2 separate regions of the Homo sapiens genome follow, and region 2 is linked to region 1. Evidence: promoter capture Hi-C in human tissues and cell types (Jung and others, 2019). All regions are on one chromosome and are shown on one strand. The core of a region is centred on a gene start or on the middle of the fragment in contact, and the rest is flanking DNA. Distances in the headings are between cores, read along the strand shown.

Region 1 (5,357 bases), core at 992-3,491:
AGCCTAAATATCCTTTAATGGTCACTTTTCTAGTCCAAGCACTGGGCTATTCTTTATATACATGATGTAACTTAATCCTTACAGAGAGCCACAAGGTAGGGATAATTAGACTCAATTTACAATTAAAGAAAGTGAGCTCAAAATGGTTTACTTTCTCAAAGTCATGCGGGGAATCGTGGCAGTGCCCAGAGTATTAATAAAATGAAATAACTTTTTTTAAGTTTGTTTATTTCAGATGGTTAGAATTGATCCGTTGTTTTTGTCATCTTATTGATTTAAACCCTTCTAAATCCATTAGGAAAGACTTTCCCTGAATAGCATTCAATTTCTAAAATAGCTCTTTGTGTAATGGAATCACTCAGATGTTGACATTCATTGGACAATTAAGGAAAACTACTTTCACCAAATTAAGGTGGCATTTTACGGTCAATATACCTCCTCAATACAGTGTTTCTTACCACTCAGGATGTCATTTTGATTATACTTCAAATTTCTCTGACTCTGAACAGCCGAAAGTGGGCCTCTAGGATGAGCTAATGTGGCAAAAGCCCTTAAAGCTGGTTTTGGTAAAGGAAGAAAAATTTAGAATAAGAAACTCAAGTGTCTCTATGTTATCAGGCTGGATGCAGTGGATCACGCCTGTAAACCCAGCACTTGGCGGGTCGGGGGGGATTGCTTGAGCCCAGGAGATCGGGACCAGCCTGGGCTGAGACCTTGTCTCTTTGTAAAAGTCATTCACTGGAAATCATGCAAATGACAGAACAAGGCACTTAATCTTAACAAAGACGCTCGCTATCTGTGCCACGCTGAGCACTAGTGTGATCTCAATATTTCTGACTTTATATTCCATGCTTAATACTAGTGAAAGAGACTACTATGTGTGGGCACTCTGCTGAGCATTCATATTTATACTTCAATTAATCTTCCTAACAACCCTTAAAAAAAGGTGTTATTACTGTCCCCATTTTACCAAGGAGGAAACAGATACAGAGGTTAACTGATCTGCATCCAAGAAATCCACGACCAAAGGCGTTGCTTTCCTTAGAGTTATATTGCTCTGCTGGAAGGAGAGTTGGGAAGCAGGAGCTCTAGCCCAGGATTTGTCATTTCAACAGGGCTTGAGCTACTTCTCTGTGCTTCAATTAATCCTCTTAAAAAGATCCACGCTGAGAACTAACTATGCTAGAAGGAGCGTGTGTTTAAAGGAACAAACCATGCATTTCTAAAAGCAAATATAAAATCACGCACAATCAAAACTGCCCTGAAGTCACGTCATTGGCCAGCGTCTGGGGTCTTGGAAGTTCAAAAGCCCCTAAGTAAATTCTTTGGTTCCGTTTTTCATTGCTGGTATGTGACCTACAGTCACCAGGGAAGGGCAACTGAGAATATGCAAGGATATTTCTCTTGTTTTTTGCCCACAAGGTGCGCTTAAATTCATAACAAATAAAAATGTGTCCGCCTATGATACCATCTCACTGCAGTTCCTTCGGATCCCTGCTTATTACTCTAAAGCTGTTTCCAGTAGTCCTGTGACCCCACCCCCGCCAGACTTCCAAATTCCAGACAAACGCCAAGACATCCCATTGTCTGTTCAGCTGGACCCCGCTCCCGGTTCCCCACGGTGAGCTCGCAGCCTCCCTGTCGTTTTAAGTTGTACCAGCTCTAAGATAAATTCTGGGCAGTAGCCCTTTGACCCTCCACCCTTGTCCAAGTTTTAGGGGGAAAAGAAGGCAGGCACATCCAGGTTAAGATCAAAGACGGGGAAAGCCGAATACGGCTGGGGCCTGAGCCGCGAAAGCGCTGGACAGGCCCCAGGAGGCCTTCTGCCCCCACCCGCACCCCAGGCTAGTGTCGCAGCCCCTCTGCCTCCCACTTCCTCCTCGACTCCTACTCGCGGTGATGAATCACGCGCCCTCCTCGCCCCGTCGCGCACCGTCCCCAGGAAAGGTAAGGGTTCGACACCCAGGAGTCACCCAAGAAGCCCGAGGGCCAGGCATCGTCGCCTGCCCAGGGAGAGAAGGGCCGGGCCCGCGGCGGGTGACAGGGACGAGGCCGCGGTGTTTGAGCCCACGGACGTCTGGAGGCCTCGCTCGGCTCCCGGGGGACAGGCAGCCAGGACTCACCAGCAGGTTGGTGCTGCGATTATCTCCCTCCGCCATCGTCTCGGGGATGCAGTCTCTACAAGCGCAGGCCACCTCCCCAACGAGTCCTCCAACCGAAACCCGCACACCAACCACAACCCGAGGGAACGCCCCGCAGGCTGCTTATATGGGTCGGCCGCCCTTCCCGACGGCCCCCGCGACGCTCGCTCCTCATTGGACAGACCGAGCTTACGCCTCAAGGAAGCCGGGCCAACCGAAGCTCAGCGCATGGCTTGAAATCGAGGTCAAAGGAGACAGAGGCAGCGCCGGGCCGAGGGGGAGGGGACACGGAGTGCCCAATCAGCGCCCAGGGACTGCGCGACGCCCCGCCCAGCGCTGTGGGAAGCGGTTCAACCGCCTCTGCAGGGGGCGCTGTCCCTCAGTGGTTCTCCGGCTCTTGCCGCTGCGGTGGCTTTGGGTCCCTCTTCGTCTGGCTTTCGCAGCCGAGGAGACTCTCTGGAAAATGGGCTACTCGAAGAGAGATGCTCCGTTGCCTCAGGCGGAGGGCGGGGACGCCGGGCCTGCGACACTTCATCTTTTCCTGGCCCCGAGGTGGCTGGGATCCGTTCCACCTTCGGCCCAGTTCCCCAGCCAGGCCCCTGAGCCGTTTAGCCCGGATTTGCGACCCGTGAGGTTTTGAGGACAAGTGAAAAGAGCTCTTTGTGTGGATTTTGCTGCAATGTTTCTCTCCTACCCAGTAGGAATGAGGCCTTAGCTTGCGCGGAAAAACCCAGGCCTGGTTTGAGAACGTGTGAAAATGCACCGCCTTCTAAGTGGCTTTATTATACGTGGATGTTTAAGTTACTTAAACTACAAGCTCCCTCTCCAAAAGGATTCTTTTTTTTTTTTTCTTTTTTTTTGAGACGGAGTCTCGCTATGTTGCCCAGCCTGGAGTGCAGTGGCGCGATCTTGCTCACTGCAAGCTCTGCCTCCCGGGTTCACGCCATTGTCCTGCCTCAGCCTTCCAAGTAGCTGGGACTACAGGCGTCCGCCAACACGCCTGGCTAATTTTTTGTATTTTTAGTAGAGACGTAGTTTCACCGTGTTAGGATGGTCTCGATCTCCTGACCTCGTGATCCGCCCGCCTCGGCCTCCCAAAGTGCTAGGATTACAGGCGTGAGCCACCGCGCCCGGCCAGAATTGTTTGTTTGTTTGTTTGAGACGAAGGAGTCTCGCGCTCCGTGGCCCCGGCTGAAGTGCAGTGGCGCGATCTCTGCTCACTGTAACCTCCATCTCCCGGGTTCAAGTGATCCTGGCGCGTCAGCCTCCCGAGTAGCTGGAATTACAGACGCCCGTCACTACGCCCGGCTAATTTTTGTATTTTAATAGAGACGGGGTTTCGCTATTTTGGCCAGGGTGGTCTGGACCTCCTGACCTCAAGATATCCGCCCGCCTTAGCCTGCCAAAGTGCTGGGATTACAGGCGTGAGCTACCGCGCCCGGCCAAAAGGATAGTTCTTGACACGACCTTTCTTCCATTAGAGGTCAAGCTAAGAAAATATGTAAACCCTCTCACAAGCAGTAGAATTCCTAGGCAGTTTAGGAACTGTGTTGAGGCACTTGTACATCTTTTCTATCCAGGATTTCAAATGCAGTAACAAGTGCTTTGATCTTTTTTTTTTTTTTTTTTTTTTTTTTTTCTTTTTTTCTTGAGACACAGCCTGGCTCTGTTGCCCAGGCTGTAGTGCAGTAGCCACCGCGCCCGGCCGATTTTTCATCGTTTGATACAAACAGAATCATGCCAAATGTCCGGATCAGATGTTTGTTTCAGGTGAATTAACTATAGTTTTAACTTCCAACCTTTTATCTTTTTTACAGGTTTTAACTTCCAATCTCATGGTCATTTGTATTCGGCCATTGAATTTAAATTTATTTTTAAAATGTTCCTTAAGTAACCACCAGGTTCTTAAATGTTCAAGGAAGTCATAAATGTGAGAGAACATAGCTGCAGACCACATACTGCCCCTAAGAGAGCTGGGCAAGGGCAGGAGCATTGTGAATTTCATGGAAGGGTGTCAATTTGCTGTGGGTCTTTCGGGGAAAGGGGAGTGAAGTATCTGAATCAGGGAGAAGCACTTGAAAAAAAGTCTTTGCAAGGGAAGCTGACTGTTCAATAAAGTGCCACTTTGGAGAATGTTGGGGTAAAGAAGTTGTAAAGGCAGGATACAGCCAGTTGACAGAGACGCTATTTGGAGAGATTTTAAAGCTATGGAGTCTGAGGAGCAGGTTCTTCTCCACGCCCCTAAAAAAAAAAAAATACAAATGGGGAGGCAGGGAAGATCCCTTGAGCCCAGGAAATAGAGGCTGCAGTGAGCTATGATTGCACCTATGCACTTAAGCTTGGGTGACAGAGCAAAAAACCTGTCTCAAAAAAAAAAAAAAAAAAAAAAGTCAAAAAGATCGAAGCAATCAGCAGCCACATAATTAGTGAATATGTTGAGCACTGGGTATGTGATCTTGCTAGACCCACAGTAATAGCCACTTCCAAAAGAGAGGGTATTTTATTAGGGTTTAAAACTGACATTTCTACTTTTGGGAAATCAGCTTTTGCTGCAGAATATGCTTCTTGTTTTCACCCAAGTTTTCCATGCACAACTTAAGACTTGTTAACACCAGCTTGTGAAATGAAGGTAGGTGAAAAAAACAGAAGCAACTGAAACAGCAGTTTCTCCACTTAGTATTTTTTGTTACTTAACAATGTATTCCCATACCTATTTCTAAATGCACAGCCCTGCTATATGGTCTCTCACTAAATTTCCGATTGGTCTAATTATTAAAAAACACCCACCCTTAACATAGCTTTCTTTAGAGCTTTGTTTTTGTCCTACAGAGACAGGATGTGATCTTTTGAAATGTGCCAGATGACTAAGCAGTTAACACAAATCTTACTAACTTCATTTAGCAGCAACAAATGCAATCTCCAAGATATAAAGCCAAGCTGGACATTTTCTATTTTTTTTCAGAGGTTTCACACTCCAAGGAATGCACCTATCTGTCAATAATGATCTACGGGAATTTTGTTTTTAAATACTGCCAAAATTAAGCTTTATAAATTGGGCCTTAACACAAAGAATTTTATCGTTGAAGTAGAATTTCTACTGCTATTCAAAAATACAACAGATGTTTGAGAATAAAATAGTTACTTTTCTGAGAATTTAGGGGTCTTTTTTGAGGTATTAGTGCTATTCAGAAAAAAAAGACTAGGCTTGGCTCGGCT
Region 2 (6,145 bases), core at 3,025-5,524, 210 kb after region 1:
TGACCTGGTGTAATGACAGAGGTGGTTATTTCTGCTTAACTCTCGAATTACTGCCCCCCACAGGGTCAGTAGCATAAATGCATTAGAAAGGTCAGGCAAAGTGGCTCATGCCTGTAATCACAGCAACTTGAGAGGCTGACGCAGGAGGATTGCTTGACAGCAGGAATTCTAGACCAGCCTGGACAGCATAGCAAGACCCTGTCTTTACAAAATAAATAAATAAATAAATAAATAAATAAATAAATAAATAAAATAATAATAATAGAAAAATTAGCTGGGTGTGGTGATGTGTGCCTATAGTCCCAGCTGCTCAGAAGGCTGAGGTAGGTGTATCACTCAAGCCCAGGGCTAGGAGGGCTGCAGTGAGCTATGATTCTGCCACTACCCTCCACCCTGGGTGACAGAGTAAGACCCTGTCTCTATGAAGAAAATAGCAAAACAAAATAACACATTGGATGATACACTGTACCTTGTAGGTTTGAGAATACATTATCTTTGGTTTTATTTTTAATTTGGGTGGTCTTGTATTCTCAAAAAATATTGAGACTTTATAAATGTATTTTAGCTGGCACAGTGGCTTACACCTGTAGTCCCAGCACTTTGGGAGGCTGAGGCAGGTGGATCACTTGAGCTCAGGAGTTCGCGACCAGCCTGGGCAATGTAGTGAAACCCTGTTTCTACTAAAATTACAAAATTTAGCTGGGCATGGTGGTGCACTCCTGTAGTCTCAGCTACTCAGGGAAGATCACCTGAGCCCAGGAGGTTGAGGCTGCAGCAAGCCAAGATGGCACCACTGCACTTCAGTCTGGGTGAAAAAGTGAGATGTTGTCTCAAAAAAAAAAAAAAAAAAAGTATTTTAGTGCTCCCTTTGGCAGCACATATACTAAAATTGGAGCGATACAGAGAAAATTAGCATGGCCTCTGAGCAAGAATGACACACAAATTCATGAAGTGTTCCATATATAAATTTATTTAAAAACCAAATAAATAAATAATGTATTTTATTTCCCACTCTTTCAGATTCACAGATTTTGAATTCTTATAAACTATTACTGCTCTATGCCAAACTCTGCCACACCTAAGAGAGAGACATATTTTCTTCCATCAAGGGACTTCCAGGCTCACTGGAAAAATGAAACTAACAGACTCTCATGAGCAGGGCCCATGTCTATCTGGTTTACCAGTGAATCCCTAGAAAGTGGCAAAGAAGGCTGGGTGCGGTGGCTCATGCCTGCAATCCCAGCATTTTGAGAGGCCAAGGCGGGTGGATCACCTGAGGTCAGGAGTTCGAGAACAGGCTGGCCAACATGGTGAAACCTCATCTCTACTAAAAATACAAAAATTAGCCAGGTGTGGTGGCGGTTGCCTGTTATCCCAGCTACTCGTGAGGCTGAGGCAGGAGAATCACTTGAACCCAGGAGGCGGAGGTTGCAGTGAGCCAAAATCGTGCCACTGCACTCCAGCCTGGGCGACAGAGTGAGATTCCATCTCAAAAAAAAAAAAAAAAAAAAAAAAAAAAAAGAAAGTGGCAAAGAAAAGGACACAGAAAGGAGAAAGGATCATTCTTTTTTTTTTGAGACGGGATCTCGGCTCACTGCAACCTCCCTGCCCCAGGTTCAAGCAATTCTCCTGCCTCAGCCTCCTGAGTAGCTGGGATTACAGGCACCCACCAGCATGCCTGGCTAATTTTGTAATTTTTAGTAGAGACAGGGTTTCACCACGTTGGTCAGGCTGGTTTTGAACTCCTGACCTCAGGTGATCCGCCTGCCTTGGCCTCCCAAAGTGCTGGGATTACAGGCTTAGCCACCGCACCGGGCCAGGAAGGACAATTCTAATTGCTAATAGTTGTTATTCTAAGCTCTTTATTTCCTTTAATCCCCACTCCACCCTCTGAGGCAAGGTTTTCAAATTATTATTATTATTTTATTTATTTATTTTTAGACGGAGTTTCGCTCTTGTTGCCCGGGCTGGAGTGCAATGGTGCGATCTCGGCTCACCACAACCTCTGCCTCCCGGGTTCAAGCGATTCTCCTGCCTCAGCCTCCCTAGTAGCTGGGATTACAGGTATGCACCACCACACCTGGCTAATTTTGTATTTTAGTAGAGACAGGGTTTCTCCATGTTGGTCAGGCTGGTCTCAAACTCCCGACCTCAGGTGATCCGCCTGCCTCGGCCTCCCAAAGTCCTGGGATTACAGGCATGAGCCACCGTGCCTGGCCTATTTTATTTATTTTTTTTGAGACGGAATCTCACTCTGTCACCCAGGCTGGAATGCAGTGGTGCCATCTCGCCTCACTGCAACCTCTGCCTCGCGGGTTTCAGCGACTGTCCCACTTCAGCCTCCTGAGTAGCTAGGATTACAGGCACCTGCCACCATGCCTGGCTAATTTTTTTTATTTTTGGTAGAGACGGGGTTTCACCATGTTGGTTAGGCTCGTCTGGAATTCCTAGCCTCAGGTGATCCATCTGCCTTGGCCTCCCAAAGTGCTGGGATTACAAGCATGAGCCACTGCGCCCGGCCGAGGGAGGGTTTTTTTAACCTTAGCACTCTTGCTTTTTTTTTTTTTTTTTTTTGAGATGGGGTCTCGCTCTATTGCCCAGGCTGGAGTGCACTGGCACCATCTTGGGTCACTGCAAGCTCTGCCTCCCAGGTTCACGCCATTCTTCTGCCTCAGCCTCCCAAGTAGCTGGGACTACAGGTGCCCGCCACCGCACCCAGCTAATTTTTTTGTATTTTTTATTTTGTTTTTAGTAGAGATGGGGTTTCACCGTGTTAGCCAGGATGGTCTTGATCTTCTGACCTTGTGATCTGCCTGCCTCGGCCTCCCAAAGTGCTGGGATTACAGGCGTGAGCCACCACACCTGGCCGCACTCTTGCTTATCGAGATTTGGGGCCAGATAGTTCTCTGTTGTGGAGGGCTGTCTGTGGATTGGAGGATGTTTAGCAACATCCCTGGCCTCTACCCACTAGATGCCAGAAGCATGTCCCCCTCCCCCAAGTTGTGACAATCAAAGATGTCCCCAGACCATTGCCTGATGTTCCTTGGGGGGTATGCAAAATCGCCCCCACTTGAGAACCACTGATCTAAGGGTAGGTACTTTACTAACTCCAAGTTACAGATAAGGAACCCAATGCACAGCACTGCGAGGCTCGTTTGGATGGAAGGTTCAAGTCCTTTTCTTTAATAGGAGCTCCCTGTCTGATGGAGGACAGACTGGTGGGAGGGTGGAGGCGTGTGCCGTGTGCCATATGCCATGGATGGCTGGCAAATTCCTCATGTTTCCTCTCTCGCCTTCAGGCCCCAGCACCTTCTCTTTCCCCTGCTCTCCTTACTCCCTGCTCCAACACCAACTTGGACTTGGGGCGCCTCCTCCAGGTTTCCAGAGCTCTGACCACATCCCCTTTTGTAGCACTTCCCCCAGGGAGCTGTCGTTGTTGGACGTCAGCCTGTTTGCCTTCCCTCCAGACTCAGGATCAGCTTTGTGGGCCGTGTAGTCTCTGTTGCAACTACTTAATTCTCCTGTTGCAGATGGTTCATAAATGAATTGGCATGGCTGTGTTCTAGGAATATTTATGGACACTGAAATTCGAATTTCATGTGATTTTCATGTGTCACAAAATATTATTTTTCTTTTGGCTTTTATTTTTATTATTTTTATTTAATTGTTTTTTTGTTTTTTTTTGATATGGAGTCTCGCTCTGTCACCCAGGCTGGAGTGCAATGGCAACATCTCGGCCCACTGCAACCTCCGCCTTCCGGGTTCAAGCGATTCTCCTGCCTCAGCCTCCCTAGTAGCTGGGATTACAGGTGCCTGCCACCATGCCCACCTAATTTTGGTATTTTCAGTAGAGACGGGGTTTCGCCATGTTGGTCAGGCTGGTCTTGAACTCCTGGCTTCATGTGATCTGCCTGCCTTGGCCTCCCAAAGTGATGGGATTACAAGTGTGAGCCACTGTGCCTGGCCTCCTTGTTTTTTTTTTTGTGACAGGGCCTTGCTCTGTCTCCCAGGATGGAGTGCAGTGGTGAGATCTCAGCTCACTGCAGCCTGATCCCCCAGGCTCAAGCAATCCTCCTGCCTCAGCCTCCCAAAGTTCAGAGATTACAGGCATGAGCCACTGTGCCTGGCCCGTCATTCCTTTCTGAGGTTGAATAATATCCTATTGTGTGGATAGACCACATTTAAAAAAATCCACTTATCTGTCAGTGGACATTTGGATTGTTTCTACCTTTTGATTATTAGCAACAATGCTGCTACGAACACTCAAGACAAGTTTTTTTTTTTTTTTTTGAGACCGAGTTTCACTCTTGTTGCCCAGACTGGCCAACATAGTGCAGTGGCATGATCTCGGCTCACTGCAAACTCCGCCTCCCGGGTTCAAGAAATTCTTCTGCCTCGGCCTCCCAAGTAGCTGGAATTACAGACGCCCACCACCATGCCTGGCTAATTTGTATTTTTAGTAGAGATGGAGTTTCACTATGTTGGCCAGGCTGGTCTCGAATTCCTGACCTCAGGTGATCCACCTGCCTCAGCCTCCCAAAGTGCTTGGATTACAGGCATGAGCCACCACGCCCAGCCTCATGACAAGTTTTTGTTTGAGAGCCCTGTTTTCAATTCTTTGTATGTACCTAGGAGTGGAACTACATGGCACATGGTTATTCTGTTTGACATTTTGACGGACTGCCAAACTTTTTTCCATAGCGGCGGCATTTTATATTCCTTGCAGCAATGTATGAGAGCTCACATATTTCTCTGTCCTTTCAGCTGGGATTTTATGAGATGCTGAGTCTTTCTTTTCTTTTCTTTCTTTTTTTTTGAGATGAAGTTTCACTCTTGTTGCCCAGGCTGGAGTGCAATGGCACCATCTCGGCTCACCGCAACCTCCGCCTCCCAGAGGTTCTTCTGCCTCAGCCTCGTGGAGTAGCTGGGATTACAGGCGCCCGCCACCACACCTGGCTAATTTTGTATTTTTAGTAGAGATGGTGTTTCACCATGTTGGCCAGGCTGGTCTTGAACTCCTGACCTCAGGTGATCCACCTGCCTCGGCCTCCCAGAGTGCTGGGATTACAGGCGTGAGCTACTGTGCCAGGCTGGGATGCTGAGTCTTGATGCTGCTGTTGTTGTCATTGTCATGATCATGTTTTCCATGCAGGGACATTCAAGAGACACAAATGAAGTATCTCTCCGAATGGGACCAGTGGAAGCGGTATAGCAGCAAGTCTTGGAAGAGGTTCCTAGAGAAGGCTCGAGAGATGACGACCCACCTGGAGCTGTGGCGGGAGGACATCCGCAGCATAGAAGGTATGCTGTCCTCACCTCTCTGCAGGCTCCTCCGCAGAAGTCTGTGTCTGGGGAGCAAGTACAGCTTCGTTTCCACTAGGGTCTAGCTGAAATTGAGCATTTCTTTCCATGATGAATGTGAGCAACAAACCACAGCAAGGTTTAGCAGAACCTGTGACTTTGTCACCAGGAAAAATCGTGGATATTTTCCTGTCCCTTCCAGTTGTTGTATTTATCTTGGAATACCGTTAATACCCATGAATACTTGGAAATTTCAGTCATTATTAGACTTCCCACTAGATCTTGTTATTTAATGTGCTAGTGAAGACCAGGCGCAGTGGCTCACTCCTGTAATCCCAGCAATTTGGGAGGCCAAGGTGGGTGAATCATGAGTTCAGGAGTTTGAGACCAGCCTGGACAACATGGTGAAATCCCGTCTCTACTAAAACTACAAAAAATTAGCTGGGCATGGTAGTGCATGCCTGTAATCCCAGCTATTTGGGAGGCTGAGGCATGAGAATCACTTGAACCTGGGAGGTGGACGTTGCAGTGAGCTGAGACCGCACTATTGCACTCCAGCCTGGGTAACAGAGTGAGACTCTGTCTCAAAAGAAGTGCCAGTAAAGGTGCTCATGATGCTCACATAGGTTATTCTATCACACATATTTTTAAAATAATATGATAACTGTATATCTTTTTATCTTATGCATTTAAATGAAATGCATGAATAGTATTATTTAAAAATAATATTAAATTATTTAATAATTTAATTTAAATTAAATGCATAAAATAGTATTATTTAAAAATAATATTAAATTATAATATTTTAATATTAGTAAACTATTATTTCATGCATTAAAATATT

Evidence for each region. Contacts are between HindIII fragments. The study calls those that stand out against the background at their distance.
Region 2: a contact is called between a fragment that was not itself captured here and the fragment with the promoter of ARL6IP1 in region 1, in 1 of the 25 tissues and cell types used here (lymphoblastoid cells).

Annotation. Positions count from the first base shown.
Region 1 is chr16:18,799,308-18,804,664 of GRCh38, forward strand. It overlaps ARL6IP1 (ARL6 interacting reticulophagy regulator 1), which reads right to left and starts at 2,242. Exons shown (of 6, transcript NM_015161.3): 1 at 2,124-2,242. The coding sequence starts at 2,159. RefSeq lists enhancers at 1,746-1,865, 2,086-2,165, 2,546-2,785. The HindIII fragment of the contact is 10,319 bases long and covers 1-4,831 here.
Region 2 is chr16:19,011,298-19,017,442 of GRCh38, forward strand. TMC7 (transmembrane channel like 7) reads left to right here. Exons shown (of 16, transcript NM_024847.4): 3 at 5,153-5,301. It also overlaps the pseudogene RNU6-1340P. Among named protein-coding and RNA genes, the nearest start is that of TMC7, 30 kb to the left of the region's middle. The HindIII fragment of the contact is 4,872 bases long and covers 1,839-6,145 here.